2 separate regions of the Homo sapiens genome follow, and region 2 is linked to region 1. The links are contacts of gene promoters, found by promoter capture Hi-C in human tissues and cell types (Jung and others, 2019). All regions are on one chromosome and are shown on one strand. The core of a region is centred on a gene start or on the middle of the fragment in contact, and the rest is flanking DNA. Distances in the headings are between cores, read along the strand shown.

What was found. Contacts are between HindIII fragments. The study calls those that stand out against the background at their distance.
Region 2: a fragment that was not itself captured here is called in contact with the fragment with the promoter of PTK2 in region 1 in 1 of the 25 tissues and cell types used here (dorsolateral prefrontal cortex).

What each region holds. Positions count from the first base shown.
Region 1 is chr8:140,998,492-141,002,905 of GRCh38, reverse strand. It overlaps PTK2 (protein tyrosine kinase 2), which reads left to right and starts at 1,624. Exons shown (of 36, transcript NM_001352702.2): 1 at 1,624-1,781. RefSeq lists silencers at 1,190-1,609, 1,630-1,959. The HindIII fragment of the contact is 8,254 bases long and covers 150-4,414 here.
Region 2 is chr8:140,468,971-140,473,129 of GRCh38, reverse strand. No RefSeq gene overlaps it. Among named protein-coding and RNA genes, the nearest start is that of TRAPPC9, 13 kb to the right of the region's middle. The HindIII fragment of the contact is 8,196 bases long and covers 1-4,159 here.

The DNA of each region.
Region 1 (4,414 bases), core at 375-2,874:
GTGGAGAGAGCGGACAATCAAGAAATAAACAAGAACACAGTGTTGGGCTATGGTGAACAATAGGTGCTTTGGAGAACAACAGAGCAGACTAAGTGCGGACTGTGTGTGAGGATAGCAGGGCAGTGGGTGGTTCCTATTATATGAAGTGGTCGGCTGTATCAATGAGGTGATATATAAGCAGGGTATTGAACGAAGTGAGGAGCAAGAAGTTCCAGGCAGAGCAAATAGCACGCGCAAAGGCCTGAGGCTGGCATGGAGAGGCAATTCCTTACAATTTCATATGTAGTAAAAAGTAACAAAACCCAGAAAAACACCAACCTTAATACATCTCATTAAAGAACAATACAACCCAAACATTTAAATATGGTAAAATCTTGATAAGCAAAAGCTTTTTATTTTACTTCATTTTTACTTTTATAAAAGCTCCTAATGCAATGACGTGTGTCACCTCTCTGGGCTTCAGGGTGTTCACCTTTCAAAAGGCCTCGGTGCCTGTCTGTCCTGCTTCCTGGCTTGTGGTTAGCATCAAAATGACACCATAAAAATGAAAGTTGCAGCCTTGAGGGTTCTTCTGGTTTCATTTCCGACCACAAGGTTGCCAGAGTGACTTTTTTTTTTTTTTAAATAACACAAATCAGTTATCACTTCCTGCTTAAAGCCCTCCAAAGGTTCCCTGTTGCCTAAAGAATAAACTCCAGGCACCTAAGCAAGCCCCACGCAGCCGTCTGCATTTTTCAATCCCTCCAACCTCGCCTTTTGCTATTTCCCCCACCCCACCTACGGCACGTTCCGGTCATAACCAACTAGCTCCTCGCTGAAACTGGCTCACACCGCGGAAGCCCGGGTCGGTGTCGGGGCGAGCCTTCCCTCCTTTTCCTGGAGCCCGTCTCAGGTCTGTAGCCCTCGGGAGGGATTGCAGGGCTCGTTCCCTGCTGGCGTTCATTTAGGTAACCTGTCTACCTCCAGTGGACTTCTAAGTCCCTTTCATGATTTTTCATCTTCCAAAATCAAATAATGGCCCAGCCCAACTTAGCTATAATGCCATGAAAAGAATCTCTGAGCCTCAGTTTCCTTGTCTGCAAAAAGGGCCCAGGAACCGCTCGTTAGGGTCGGTGTGGTGCCTGGAGAGTGCACTGCAAGGCCCGGGGCCCGCAGCGGGTGCCCGACAGCGGGCGTCCAACTCTGGGGGCGGGGCCGCAGGGCCGCTCAGGAGGGAGGTTCTCCAGAGGGGACCCCTTCGGGATTTGGGGGCAGGGAAGGAGATGGGGAGGACTTTCCCGAAGTCCGTCTAATCCCGCTGGCGGAGAGCGAGGCAGGTGGGACCCCAGGATGTCCGCTCGGCGGGGCGACCCCGGCCACCCCCGAGACCAGGGCTTTCCTCGTCCGGCCGCCACGCCCGCGCGCAGCCTCGGGCCACCCCGAAACCCCGGCGCGGTCACTACAGGACAAATTACGCGAGCAGAGCCTAGCGGCGCGCTGGGCATGCGCGGGGGCGGCGCGCATGCCCAGTCCCCCCGAGAGGCGGGAACTCCGGACTGAGACCGGGTCGGGCGTGCGCTGCCGAGAGAGGACGCGCGCCTCAGCCGGCTGCCGCGCACGCGCGCGGGCCCGCGCCGACGCAGCACGGCCTCGAGGGCGCGAGCCCGCGCCGCCGCCGCCGCCGCCGGTCCCGGACCACTGTGAGCCCGCGGCGTGAGGCGTGGGAGGAAGCGCGGCTGCTGTCGCCCAGCGCCGCCCCGTCGTCGTCTGCCTTCGCTTCACGGCGCCGAGCCGCGGTCCGAGTGAGTGCGGGGCGCCGGGCGCGGGGCGCGGGTCGGGGGCTGGGCGGGCTCCTTCTGTGCAGCGGTCGTGGGCTGGGCCGCGGCCCTGAGGGCGGAGGGGCAGAGCGGGGCCGCCCAACCAGTCCCGGGGCGGATGCGGCGGAGACCGGCCCCTCCCGCGCCCCCGGCCCGGGTTCTGGGAGGAGGGGAGGCCGGTGGCCGTGAGGAGGTTGGGGGCCCTCGCGGAGGCCGAGAGGCTTAAGGAGGTCAGGGGGCGCGCTGGGAGGCGGGGGTTCGGGGCGCTGGGTGGTCGGGAGGCTTGGGGAAGACTGGGAGGCTGAGGGACGTGGGGAGGCCGGGAGCTCGAGGAGGTCGGGGGTTTTGGGGGCGCGCGGGGAGGCCAAGGGGTTCGGGGAAGACAGAAAGGCTGGGGGACGTGGGGAGTCCGGGAGACGTGAGGAGGAAGGGGGGGGCGGCTTTCGAAAAGGCCGGGCGCGCGGAGAGGCCGAGGGGCCTGAGGAAGACGAGGAGGCCGGGGCTCTGGGGGCGCGCAGGGCGGACAGAGGCGCGGGGAGGACGGGCCGGCCTCCGCCGGAGCGGACCCAATGCCTGAAAAACAAAAGGGGAGAGGCAGGAGGAGGAAGAGGGAAATCGCAGGGACGTCGGCAGGGTTCGCCCGGACGCGAGAGGGAGGCTCGCGACGGCCCGACCTCCGTCCCCCGGGCGCGGCCTCGCGGGCAGCCAAGGGTGGGCTCCGAGCGGCCTGCCGGTGCCCGAGCCCCAAGCCCGCCGTGTCCCCGAACGCAAACCCTCAAGTTTGGTAGAGCCCCGTGGGCTTCTTGGCGGGAGCCCTGGAGCCCTCACTGAAGTCCTCACTGGAGTCATTGTGCTTCCCAAGTTTTCTCCTCTTCCCCGCCCCCAGCCCCCGACTCTGCCGCGGTGGCTTAGGCGCAACTGTTTGCCGAATTTCTCTCTGGGTTCCTTGTGTAGCGGCATCCTGTTCTTTCTTAGAAGAAGGGGTGTGTGTGTGTGTGTGTGTGTGTGTGTGTGTGTGTGTGAATTGGTTTCATTTAATTGCAGAATTTTGTAGCTAAATTCAGTGAGGGTAAAGTTTCTTTTTTTTTTTTTTTCCGAGTCATTTCAACAGTGTCTCATTCTTGCATAGTTAGCCTGCAGCTGGGTTTTTGGCAATGAGACTAAGATAATAGTAATATTGTAGTAATTATGGGAACTGGTTATACATTCAAGCTGAAAGCTGAAGGCAGTGCAAGAGTTTGGGGATTTGTATTTAAGACTTAACCATCGCTAGGATTTTTACTTAGAATGTAAACGTTTTCATGGCTGGAAAAACAGACCAGTACTATTTGAAATGAAATACCAGAGCCTCAACCTTAATATTTTATTTGGGAAACGGGTAATGAAAATGATGTCTTCGAGAGTTGAGCACTCCGTCCCATATTTGAAAACTTATGAGCAGTGCGATGCAAGCACACGGATGAACTAGTTACAAGACACATAAAAGTAAACTAGCATTCAACGTATTTTTGTTGGGGTACAGTATAGATAATATTTTCATCCAGTTATACTAGCCAATTAATTAGAAAAGCCCTATGATATTCAAACAAGGAACATTTTAAGGATGTTTGTGTCCCAATATCTTTGTGTTTTGTATTTGTGGTTATCCTTGGTGGGGAAAAACAGGCTGAACCTACCATCATTTTGAACCTTCTTGTTTATTAAACTGCAGAAACAACAAGATCAATATTACAAGGTTTTCCTTTAAAGAATTTCAGGTCACTATCAAATAATCTAGTTTAATAATGAACACAGGCACAGATTATTTAAAACACATGCTTCCTTTATAAGGGAGCCGACAATCACCTAAGACTTCAGTGTAGACGCTGATTAGAAGGACCCATACATCATTCAGTGGTGATGCATCAAGAAGCAAGTCATTGGTTAAATAAAGACATGGAAATCAAAACTCCATGTTTACGGTTTGGGGCAAAGAATACTGGGGCAAACTCTGAGAGGAGATGGGACTTAAAAAGCCTTATTATTTGAGGCTGGAAGCCCATTGAAAGTGAATAATGTTAGATTAGGAGTGAAGTTCCATGAATCCAGCAGTGAAATTGTGAGGAGGCAGTGAGGATCATTAAAACGTTTTATACTAAAATGTTTTCTGAAAAGCACCATGCTTCTTGATGGAAATTACATAACTTACTCCCTCAGTCCTCAAAATCATGTTCTCCAGCTAGTCAGATAACTGTTCTTTCTAGGGAGTTGGAGAAATTGTCTAAGAAAATAGTTTTTTTTTTTTTTTTTTTGAGACGGAGTCTCACCCTGTGGCCCAGGCTGGAGTGCAGTGGTGCGATCTCGGCTCACTGCAAGCTCCACTGCCCGGGTTCATGCCATTCTCCTGCTTCAGCCTCCCAAGTAGCTGGGACTACAGGCGCCCGCCACCACGCCCGGCTAATTTTTTGTATTTTTTAGTAGAGACGGGGTTTCGCCGTGTTAGCCAGGGTGGTCTCGATCTCCTGACCTCATGATCCGCCCACCTTGGCCTCCCAAAGTGCTGGGATTACAGGCGTGAGCCACTGCGCCTGGCCTGAAGATCCTGTTGTTTTAAAGGTAGCCTCTTTAAAAAAAAAAGA
Region 2 (4,159 bases), core at 837-3,336, 530 kb after region 1:
CACTGCAACCTCTGTTTCCTGGGTTCAAGCCATTCTCCTGCCTCAGCCTCCCAGAGTGCTGGGACTACAGGCAGTTGCCACCACACCTGGCTAATTTTTTTTTTTTTTTTTTGAGACAGAGTGTCACTCTGTCGCCCAGGCTGGAGTGCAGTGGTGTGATCTTGGCTCACTGCAAGCTCCACCTCCCGGGTTCATGCCATTCTCCTGCCTCAGCCTCCCAAGTAGCTGGGACTACAGGCACCTGCCACCACGCCTGGCTAGTTTTCTGTATTTTTTAGTAGAGATGGGGTTTCACCCTGTTAGCCAGGATGGTCTCGATCTCCTGACCTCGTGATCCGCCTGCCTCGGCCTCCCAAAGTGCTGGGATTACAGGCCTGAGCCACCGCGCCTGGCAGCAATTTTAAATAAAGCTGCTGTCATCATTCTTGGACAAGTATTTTGGTGAACATATGGTTGTTTTGATTTATTTTGGATAAATACCTAGACACTGAATGGCTGGGGCAAAAAGTAAGCATATGTTTAATTTTATAAAAAATCGCCAGACCTTGTTCCAAAGTACTTGTACATCTTACATTCCCACCAGCAATGCATGAGAATTCCAGTGTCTCCCTAACACTTGGTGTCATGAGTCTTTGAATTTTAGCTTTTTTTTTTTTTTTTTTTTTTTGATAGGGTCTCACTCTGTTACCCAGGCTGGAGGAGTACAGTCACACAATCATAGCTCACTTGCAGCCTCGACCTCCCAAGCCAGAGAGCCTCCTACCTCAGCCTCCTGAGTAGCTGGAACTATGGGCATGCTTTATCACACCTGGCTAATTTGTTGATTTTTTGTAGAGACGGGGTCTCACCACACTGCTCAGGCTGGTCTGAAACTCCTGGGCTCAAGTGATTCTCCTGTCTTGGCCTCCCAGAGTGCTGGGATTACAGGTGTAAGCCACCCTGCCAGGCCTAATTTCAGCCATTCTGATCCATGTGTGCACATCTCAGCGGTGAGCCCAGTAGCTCATACACAACTTTTTGGGTTACCTCTCCCTAGCTCCTTTCTGTCCATTCTCTGTCTCCTCAACTGGGTGACACTGGTGGCCTTTGTTTGAGTTCCCGCCCTCTGTACCATGGATCAGATATAGACTCCAGGCAGAAAGCCCAGTGAGCACAAAGCTCCACTTGTTTATTTCTCATTTGTTTGTTTCTCAGGGAACAGTCCTGAGCTGCCTGTTGTCGAGTCTGAAAACAGTTCCCTTTTCTGCCCCCTACCCCCGGTTTTCTATTTGTTTACGGTGAAAACATGTCTAGATGCTACAATCCCCTCTATATTTGTTTTTCACTTTTTAAAAATTGGCTTTGGCCAGGCGCGGTGGCTCACGCCTGTAATCCCAGCACTTTGGGAGGCCAAGGTGGGCGGATCACCTGAGGTCAGGAGTTTGAGACCAGCCTGGCCAACATGGGGAAACCCCGTCTCTACTAAAAATACAAAAATACAAAAACATTAGCCAGGCATGGTGGCATATGCCTGCAATCCCAGCTACTTGGGAGGCTGAGGCAGAAGAGTCGCTTGAACCCAGGAGGCAGAGGCTGCAGTGAGCCGAGATTGTGCCACTGCATTCCAGCCTGGGCGACAGAGCAAGATTCTTTTTTTTTTTTTTTTTTTTTGAGACGGAGTCTCGCTCTGTCGCCCAGGCTGGAGTGCAGTGGCGCGATCTCGGCTCACTGCAAGCTCCACCTCCCAGGTTCACGCCATTCTCCTGCCTCAGCCTCCCGAGTAGCTGGGACTACAGGTGCCCGCCACCACGCCCGGCTAATTTTTTGTATTTTTAGTAGAGACGGGGTTTCACCATGTTAGCCAGGATGGTCTCAATCTCCTGACCTCGTGATTCGCCTGCCTCGGCCTCCCAAAGTGTTGGGAATACAGGCGTGAGCCACCACACCCAGCGCAAGATTCTGTCTCAAAAAAAAAAAAAAGTTTGAGAGCAAGTGAAAAAAAAAGGTTTGAGAGCAAGTAAATGAGGATGGGACGGAAGAGTGACATCCAGAAAACAAGTAGTTTAGCAAGGCTGAACCATGGTATGAGGTTGGGAACTGCAGCCAGTGAGGATGGACTGGTAGGCAGGAAGCGCTTTGTTTTGAACAGGTTTATTGAGATAGAAGACACCTGTTAGAAAATTCACCCATTTAGAGTATGATTCATTGGCTTTTAGTATGTTCAGAGTGTTGCATCCCACCATCAGGAAGCCTTATAAGGTCCTATTGAGGTTTGCCTTCCTGGGGCCCCTGAACTGGCTTATGGGGATATGTGGGTGCATAAAGACTGATGGCAAAGCTGGAGCAGGGTGGGTCCAGGCAGAAAAGAGGAAAGGCAGTACTCTTTGTCCCGAGCTAGGCAGAGCTGGAGCAGGTTTCCTGTGGATTGTGAGGGATGGGGAGGAGGCCCCTCAAGTCCACTCCCCACCACAGGCCACAACTCCTATGTATTTTTTTTTGAGACAGAGTCTCGCTCTGTTGCTCAGGCTGGAGTGTAGTGGCATGATCTCAACCCACTGCAGCCTCTGCCTCCTGAGTTCAAGCAATTCCCCTGCCTCAGCCTCCTGAGTAGCTGGGGTTACAGTTGCCCGCCACCACGCTTGGCTAATTTTTGTGTTTAGTAGAGACAGGGTTTCACCATGTTGGCTAGGCTGGTCTTGAACTCCTGACCTAAGGTGATCCACCCGCCTCGGCCTCCCAAAGAGCTGGGATTACAGGCATGGGCCACCGCACCAGGTCAGGACTGTGTCTTAATAGTCAAAGCAAAGGGGACCATAAAGCACCAGGAATGTGGGGCTGGACCGACTGAGGCTCTCAGAAGCTTCTCATTTGCCAGGCACCCCAGAGCTTCCTTGGGGAGTGCTCTGAGAGGAACACTTCTAAAGAGGATCTCAGTTTTCTTAGTTGAGAGTGGTACTTTTTGAAGTGGGAGGGAGAAGGCCTGCAGCTTATTGACAGGAATGGGAAACAATGCCTCAGCCGGGCACGGTGGCTCATGCCTGTAATCCCAGCACTTTGGGAGGCCAAGGTGGGTGGATCATCTGAGGTCAGGAGTTCGAGATCAGCCTGGGTAACATAGTAAAACCCTGTCTCTACTAAAAATACAAAAAATTAGCCTGACGTGGTGGCAGGCGCCTATAATCCCAGCTACTTGGGAGGCCAAGGCAGGAGGATCACTTGAACCCGGGAGGCAGAGGTTGCAGTGAGCCAAGATAGCGCCATTGCACTCCAGCCTAGGCAACAAGAGCGAAACTCCATCTCAAAAAAACAACACAAAACAAAAAACCTCAGAGATCAGCGGAGGCAGAATTGAACCAGGCAACTTGTGTGGAACGAATTCTCGTAGCTGCTGGATGGTGATGTGGATGAAAGGAGGATGAGAGGAACCGGTCTGTGTGCACAGGCTGTGCTTCCCTCTCCCAGCCCGTGGGGAGTAGCTGCTTTCCAGACCCGGCTGTGCTTTGGAAAACACACATCTCAAGGCCACGCCCCCAGTGTTTTCATTCAGTAGTTCTGAGTCAGGCCAGGAAAATCATGGGGTATTTTTAACGGCTTGGACTTTCTCTGGAATCCTCTTTTTAATAATTTCTGAAACGACTTCAAACTTAAGTCGCAAGTACAGTACAAATAACTCATTTTCTTGAATTGGTTTAGAGTAAGTAGCTGAGGGATACCCCAGCGCCCCTGGAGAGCTGACTGTGTCTTTTCCACAAACAAGGATATTCTGCATAACCACAACACAGCCCTCAAGGTCAGGACAGTAACATCCATACGTGGCTGCCACAGGATCCTCAGGCTCTATTCAAGTTTCACCAGTTGTTCCAATTATATATAATATAAACATATAATATAAGGCAGCCACTTATATTTGTTCTATTAGCATATCTATGTTATATATATATATATATATATATATATATTTTTTTTTTTTTTTTTTTTTTTTTGAGACAGAGTCTCACTCACTCTGTTGCCCAGGCTGAAGTGCAGTGGTGAAATCTCAGCTCACTGCAACCTCTGCCTCCCGGGTTCAAGTGATTCTCCTGCCTCAGTCTCCCAAGTAGCTGGGATTATAGGCACCTGCCACAATGCCCGGCTAATTTTTTTTTTTTGTATTTTTAGTACAGATGGGGTTTTGCCATGT